2 separate regions of the Homo sapiens genome follow, and region 2 is linked to region 1. The links are contacts of gene promoters, found by promoter capture Hi-C in human tissues and cell types (Jung and others, 2019). All regions are on one chromosome and are shown on one strand. Each heading gives the region's core, a stretch centred on a gene start or on the middle of the fragment in contact. The rest is flanking DNA. Distances are from core to core; before and after follow the strand shown.

Evidence for each region. The method cuts DNA at HindIII sites, captures the fragments that hold promoters and counts their contacts. A contact is called where the count stands out against the background at its distance.
Region 2: a contact is called between the fragment with the promoter of RAB2B here and a fragment that was not itself captured in region 1, in 1 of the 25 tissues and cell types used here (heart left ventricle).

What each region holds. Positions count from the first base shown.
Region 1 is chr14:22,906,402-22,910,161 of GRCh38, reverse strand. It overlaps RBM23 (RNA binding motif protein 23), which reads left to right. Exons shown (of 14, transcript NM_001077351.2): 3 at 567-679; 4 at 1,782-1,829. Among named protein-coding and RNA genes, the nearest start is that of RBM23, 11 kb to the left of the region's middle. The HindIII fragment of the contact is 8,113 bases long and covers 1-3,760 here.
Region 2 is chr14:21,475,431-21,479,618 of GRCh38, reverse strand. RAB2B (RAB2B, member RAS oncogene family) reads left to right here and starts at 2,660. Exons shown (of 8, transcript NM_032846.4): 1 at 2,660-2,792; 2 at 3,020-3,091. The coding sequence starts at 2,747. It overlaps TOX4 (TOX high mobility group box family member 4), which reads right to left and starts at 2,424. Exons shown (of 9, transcript NM_014828.4): 1 at 2,335-2,424; 2 at 2,055-2,123. The coding sequence starts at 2,340. RefSeq lists enhancers at 2,474-2,543, 3,124-3,243. The HindIII fragment of the contact is 11,571 bases long and covers 1-4,188 here.

The DNA.
Region 1 (3,760 bases), core at 1,148-3,647:
TTTTTTTTTTGAGACAGAGTCTCACTAGGCTGCCCAGGCTGGAGTGCAGTGGTACAATCCCAGTTACTGCAACCTTTGCCTCCCAGATTCAAATGATTCTCCTGCCTCAGCCTCCCAAGTAGCTGGGACTACAGGCGTGTGCCACTATGCCTGGCTAATTTTTGTATTTTTAGTAGAGATGGGGTTTCGACATGTCGGCGAGGCTGGTCTCAAACTCCTGGCCTCAATTGATCCGCCTGCCTCAGCCTTTAAAAGTGCTGGGATTACAGGCGTGAGCCACTGCCCCCAGCCTAGCACCAATTTGTAACTCTCCTGGGAAATGTTAGTGGAGCAGATGTTGGGTAACTGAAGTTTGACATCAAAATCTGTCATGCTGATCTCTTCCTTTTAGGTAGTTTCCTTGATTCCTTTCTTACTCCCTTTGTTAGGAAATAAGGGTGCTGAAAATCTGGCTAGATAATCAAGTGGTTTGATTTATTCCTTGTCCACCTTTGTTCCCTTTGCCCATTGGAATCTGTGTGTCTGCCACCTTATACCTTGTGACATTTTCCTGGTGAATGCCTCAGGATGAGCAACAAAGGAAAGAAGTTAAAAAGGATTATCCTAGCAATACCACCAGCAGCACCAGCAACAGTGGCAATGAGACCAGTGGAAGCAGCACCATCGGGGAGACAAGCAAGTGAGTGTGGGAGGAAGAAATGGGTTGGCAACTTGGGGAAGGGAAACAGTTTTGTCCATTGGAAAAATAACCAGAATAGGGAGATTGTTTCTGTTAAGACTGCTGACTGTTAGTAATGGCTCCACCTAGGTCATGAGAATAATGGTGACTTGATTTAATTATCTAGTCTTCATTTTCCAGTGTAGATTTGTGGATTAGTCCTAGCATCAATATACTTCATTTGAATAAAATACCAAGAGGGGCTGGGCGTGGTGGCTCACACCTGTAATCCCAGCACTTTGGGAGGCCGAGGTGGGTGGATCACCTGAGGTCAGGAGTTCGAGACCAGATTGACCAACATGGTGAAACCCCGTCTCTACTAAAAATACAAAAATTAGCTGGGCGCGGTGGCAGGCTCCTGTAATCCCAGCTACTCAGGAGGCTGAGGCAGGAGAATTGCTTGAACATGGGAGGCAGAGGTTGTAGTGAGCCGAGGTCGCACCATCGCACTCCAGCCTGGGAAACAGAGTGAGACTCTGTCTCAAAAAAAAAAAAAATAGCAAGAGGACCCCTGATTTGGAAACACCAGGTTTTGCTTCGCATTAGGGGGAAAAATGGCCTCTTCAGATGCCTGACAGCTTTCAGGGCTGTAAGTTGGTATTGTGCAATTGCTGTGAACCACTGCTGGATCATCTTCGGGTCTTTGGTTTTTTCATGCTTTCTGTTTCATTCTGGCCTTACTGTAATTCCTTTTCTTTGGCAGCAATAACGAAACCTTCTCTTTAAGAATTTACACTCCTGACCTGGCGCGGTGCTCACGCGGGGCTCATGCATGTAATCCCAGCACTTTGGGAGGCTGAGGCAGGTGGATCACTTGAGGCCAGGGGTTCAAGATGAACCTGGCCAACATAGCGAAACCTTGTCTCTACTAAAAATATAAAAAATTAGCTGGGCATGATGGTACATGCCTGTAATCCCAGCTACTCAGGAGGCTAAGGCATGAGGATCGCTTGAACCTGGAAGGCGGAGGTTGCAGTGAGCCAAGATTGCACCACTGCACGACAGAGCGAGATTCTTTCTCAAAATTAAAAAAAAAAAAAGAAGAATGTACTCTCTTTCACAGGAAGAAGAGGAGTCGGAGCCATAATAAAAGCAGGGATAGAAAGCGCAGGTCAGTAATTCTGGGCCAGGCACAGTGGCTCGTATCTTTAATCCTAGCACTTTGGAAGCCAAGGCGGGAGGATCACTTCAGGCCAGGAGTTCAAAACCAGCCTGGGCAACATAGCAAAATCCTGTCTCTACAAAAAATTTAAAAATTACCCAGGTGTAGTAGTACATGTTTGTACTCCCAGCTACTTGGGAGGCTAAGGCTGGAGGATTGCTTGGGCCCAGGAGTTCGAGGTTGCAGTGAGCCGAGATTGCAGCACTAAACTCCTGCCTGGGCAACAGATGGAGAACCTGTCTCAAAAAAAATAAAAATAAAAATAAAAAATTGAAACATTTAGCTTAAAACACAAACACATTGTACAACTCTACAAGTTTTCTTTATGTCCTTATTCTATAAGCTTTTTTCTATTTTTAAATTTTTTTGTCTTTTACTTTTTAAACATTATTGTTATTGTTGAAAACTACGACACAAAGACACATGAGCCTAGGCCTGCAGAGGGTCTTTCACCTCCACATCTTGTCCCACTGGAAGGTCTTCAAGGGCATTAATACACATAGAGTTGTACTCTGCTGTAACAGTGCTTTCTTTAGGAGCACCTTCTGAAGGACCAGCCTAAGGCTGTTTTATAGTTAACCGAAGTAGAAGTAATATATTCTAGAATGATAAATATAGTAAATACATGAATCAGTGACATCATTACTTTTTATCGTGAAGTATATACTGTACGTAATTGTTTTATTTTTAAACAATTTTTAATTGATACATATTGTATGTAGTTTCTGGTATGTGTGAAATTTAATACATATAATTTGTAAAGATCAAATCAGTGTACTTGAGTTATCCTTGACCTAAATGTTTATCTTTTCATGATGCTAGGAAACATTCAAATTATTCTCTACTAGCTATTTTGAAATGTATAATAGATTATTGTACACTGTAGTAATAACCCTACTGATTTGTTGAACACTGGGTCTTATTTTTTCTTTTTTTTTTGAGACCGAGTTTCGCTTTTGTTGCCCAGGCTGGAATGCAATGGCGTGATCTTGGCTCACCGCAACCTCTGCCTCCCAGGTTCAAGTGATTCTCCTGCCTCAGCCTCCTGAATAGCTGGGATTACAGGCGTGTGCCACCATGCCTGGCTAATTTTTTTGGTTTGTTTTTTGAGACAGAGTCTCACTCTGTTGCCCAGGATGGAGTGCAGTGGCGCGACGTCGGCTCACTGCAACCTCCGCCTCCCAGGTTTAAGAAGTTCTCCTGCCTCAGCCTCCTGAGTAGCTGGGATTACAGTTGCGCACCACCACACCTGGCTAATTTTTGTATTTCTGGTAGAGATGGGGTTTCACCATGTTGGCCAGACTGGTCTGGAATTCCTGATCTCAAGTGATCCACCCATTTTGGTCTCCCAAAGTGCTGGGATTACAGGCGTGAGCCACCGTGCCTGGTCTAATTTTGTGTTTTTAGTAGAGACGGAGTTTCTCCATGTTGGTCAGGCTGGTCTCGAACTCTCGACCTCAGGTGATCTGCCCGCCTTGGCCTCCCAAAGTGCTGGGATTACAGGCGTGAGCCACCGCGCCCAGCCCTGGGTCTTATTTTTTCTATTAAATGACATATTTGTATCCATTCATCTACTTCTGTTCATTCCACCCACAGCCGCCATCCTTCCATCCTTCCATCCTTCCCAGCCTCTAGTAAACACTAGTCTTTCTATCTTCATGAGATTCACTTTGTACATAATTGGATGTGCTGTATTTTTATACAACTGGGAGTGCAGTAGGTAATAGTTTGGTTTACACCAGTATCACCACAAACACATAAGTAATACATTACGACATTACAGTGGCTGTAACATCACTAGGTTATACGAACTTCTCAGCACCGTTATAATCTTATGGGACCACTGTTGTATATGCACTTGGTTGTTGGCCTAAACATGA
Region 2 (4,188 bases), core at 1,411-3,910, 1.4 Mb after region 1:
TGGAGTACAATGGCGCAATCTCGGCTCACTGCAACCTCTGCCTCCCAGGTTCAAGCGATTCTCCTGCCTCAGCCTCCTGAGTATCTGGGATTACAGGCGCGCACCACCACACCCGGCTAATTTTTGTATTTTTAGTAGAGATGGGGTTTCACATGTTGGTCAGGCTGGTCTCGAACTCCTGACCTCGTGATCCGCCCTCCTTGGCCTCCCAAAGTGCTGGGATTACAGGCATGAGCCACCGCACCCCGCCTCACCTGTTTTTTTAAAATTAATTATTATTATCTTTTATAGAGACAGAGTTTGATCACGTTGCCCAAGCTGGTCTAGAACTCTTGGGCTCATGCAATTCTCCTGCCTCAGCCTCCCAAACAGTTGGGATTACTGGCACGAGCTACTGTGCTGGGCCCAGATTTAGGTTTTATATCATTTCAAAGTTTGCTGCATACTAGATTCACACTTATCCTGCTTATGAGAATAATAAATAAAAGCAACAAAAAAGTTAAACTGGCACTGGGCACATTGGCTCATGCCTGTAATCCTAGCACTTTAGGAGGCTGAGGCGGGCAGATCACTTGAGGCCAGGAGTTAAAGAGCCTGGGTAACAGGGTGAAACCCCGTCTCTACAAAAATTCAAAAAAAAAAAAAAAATTAGCTGGGTGTGGTGGCGCACACCTGTATTCCCAGCTACTTGGGAGGTTGAGGCAGGAGAATCACTTGAGCCCAGGAGGTGGAGGCTGCAGTGAGCCAAGATCGTGCTACTGCACTCCAGCCTGGGCTACAGGGAGACTGTCTCAAAAAAAAAAAGAAAGAAAAAAAAAGTTAAACTAGCAACTGGCCCTTGTCAACCCCATTTTCATCCATGAAAACGTTAGGATTATAGGATAAGCCCATGCAACAGCCACTGACAATTCTTGGTAAAAAAAACTGATGCAAATGGTCCACACCACTTTTGAAAATAAATATAAAAGTCCTCAAAAAATGGCAGATGGTTCAAGACTTCAGTTTCTCAAAGACAGAAATTTTTGTCTGTTCCACCATTCTCTTTTGCCTCTCCCAAACAAGTGATACATATCTATATTATGACAATATTTCAACCAAACTTTTTTAACGAACACTTCAGGGTTTCATCATAACCTTTACTTCTACTTTAAAACAGCATAAGAAACTATAATTACAGCTGTTTGACAGCTGGGGAAACTGTGACATACAAAGATGAAGTAATGTGCCCAACGTCTGAGTCACTGGCAAATTGAAACACATGTCCTACTCAACTCTTTTATATTCTCTAGCAGCTATTTCCTTTCCTCCTGACATTAGCAAAACAAGCTGACACCATGTAGGTAAAGGTAACCACAAATTTTTTATCAAAGTAGGAAATTTAGGCCGGGCGCAATGGCTCAGGCCTGTAATCCCAGCACTCCGGGAGGCCGAGGTGGGTGGATCACCTGAGGTCAGGAGTTCGAAACCAGCCTGGCCAATATGGTGAAACTGCCATCTCTACTAAATATACAAAAATTAGCCGAGCGTGGTGGCGCACGCCTGTAATCCCAGCTACTCGGGAGGCTGAGGCAGGAGAATCGCTTGAACCCAGGAGACAGAGGTTGCAGTGAGCCGAGATCGCACCACTGCACTTCAACCTGGGCGATAAAGCGAGACTCTGTCTCAAAACAAAAGAAAACCAATAAGCTCCTCCCCTCAACCCCAATTTCTTCAGCTGCTGAAACATTTTCTTTCCACTGCGATCCCCTAAGATTACTGTAGCTATTTCTCCCCAGAGAAAGGAGACAATTCCACTCTGTCTTCTAATCCAGAATCCCTTTTCTCTTTAAACAGGTTATCTCTTTCCAATACCTTGCTTTCTGATGACAGCAACTTCCCAAGACTTCCCCAGATAGTCCCCACAGGCTCTAGAAGCAACCGCCACTTTTCTCTAAACACCAATTGCGGCCCTTGGTTCCCAGCCCCCGTCCCCGGAGTCCGTGCTCTCCTCCCCACTACCCTACCCCACCGCTGCCTCAGGCCCTACCCCCGCGGCGTCGGCAGCTCTGGCTCACCTCGGCCCCTGACAGGAAGGGGTGCGAAGGCCCTGTGATCGTCAGGTAATTGTCATTTCCTCCGGGAAACTGGAAACCAAAAGAAAGTCGCGGGGATAAGTTAGGGGGAGCAGGGAGTCAGCTTGGAGCGATGGCTTTTGACCCTGACATTCTGACAACACTCCCCAAACCCCGCTCTCTCTCCTCTCCCGTCAGTCGCCTCTCCGCCCGGCTTCCCGTCCCTGCTTCAACCCGGTCGGCCGCGTTCTCTCGCCAGCCTTCTTAGCTATCAGGTTCCTACCTCCATCTTCACACAACCGCTCCCACCGTCTCAGACCCTCATCGCTCCCACCGCCCCCACTGGACTCGGAACTGCCGTCACTTCCGCAAGGACGTGTGTTCTCTCTGCTGATTGGAAGGAGCGCCGTGGGGCTGCAGAGAGTCAGGCGCTGGGCTATCGCCCCCTGGAGTTTGGAGGGATAAGGGCATGTAGAAGTGCTAGAAGCGTCCCTGGAGGTGGCGTAGGGTACTCCCGACCTAAGGATGATTCCGGGGAGTGCAATAGAGACGTGATCTGGGCTAGAGGAGCCGGAGGGGCGGGGGAGCGGGGGGAAGGGGGAGAAGAAGAAGATCGGTAGATTGAGTGGCTAGAGAGGTCGGAGGTAAGTGGCTATAGAAGTCGGGCGGACCCGGAACCCAGAGGACGCGACACCATGACTTATGCTTATCTCTTCAAGTATATCATCATCGGAGACACAGGTAACCCTCAGGTGGTTCGCCTTCAAGGCTCGGGCGGGCATTCGAAGCTCCCAAATTGGGTGGCGGGGGCGGGGCTCACTTTGTGGGCTGGGCGATTCGAGACGGGCGGGGCGGTTCGGGGCGGCCGGGGGCGGGGCTCGGGAGCCCCCCTTCTCTGGTCCGGGAAGTCCATACTCTGGAAGGTGTTCCAGGGCTGCGTGATTCCGGGAGTGTGCTTTCTCTTTCAGGTGTGGGGAAGTCATGTCTCCTCCTGCAGTTTACAGATAAGCGGTTCCAGCCTGTCCACGACCTCACAATAGGTAAGTGCATCTACTTGTTCCAGAACAGATGATAAAACCTGACTAGCTAAATTGCTAAAGTGGAAAGTTAGCAGCCTTCAGTGTTCGAAGTAAAAAGTTACCCCTCACTACTTTAAACTAGTCCAAACTTATGTTAATGAAGTGACCAATGAAACGTTGATATGTGGGGAGTAGTGTAAGGGAGAGTATATAATTGAAAGGTAACTTTTTAGAGTGTGAGGTATAGACTCGTCATATAATTTTTTTTCAAATACAATTTGTATGTTTATGGAAAATCCCACGAAAGCATAACTGCTTATTTATGAACTCATCTGTGCTTTGAGGTAAATTAATACCAGCCTTACTTTTAAAAAGTAAACACCAATACATGGACATTTTTTATATTGGTGAAGAAGCAAATTGAGGAGTCATCCCTGCCTTAGAATTAATAGGCAAATAAAACTAAAAACTTTCCTTTTAAATGAAAGAGTGTGTTAACAGTTCCTCAAACGCACTGGCGATCCTGGAAAATATTAACCTTTCCCACACGTTTGTGATAAGGCATGGCCTGAAGAGGCTTTTAACTACCCCCTCTTCGTTATCTCCGTAACCCCAGTCCAAATAAACAACATATATGAAACTAGCTTTCTTGCCATGCAAATGCAGTTTCTAAATAAACCCCTACATCCCCATTCTTACCATATTGCTACTTCCAAGTCCCACCTGTATGGAAACCTGAAGCTACCACTGTTCCTAACGGATTTATTTAGAGTCAAATAATTGATGGGGTTAGAAAAGGATTTGGCAGTATCAACTAAAAGGTATTTTAAAGGGAATATTGAGCGAATTCTCACTTTGCGATAGGGGCTAATGATACAATGCTTAACAAGGCAACAATGCTTAATTGTGCCTCTGGCAATTATTGGAAATGTAAAATGTATTGTTAAAAAAATTAGGTGGGCGTTGTGGCGTGTGCCTGTAAGGTACTTACTTGGGAGGCTGAGGCAGGAGAATCACTTGAACTCAGGAGGTGGAGGCTGCAGTGAGCTGAGATCGCACCACTGCACTCCAGCCTGGGTGACGGAGCGAGACTCCATCTCAAAAAAAAAAAAAAAAAA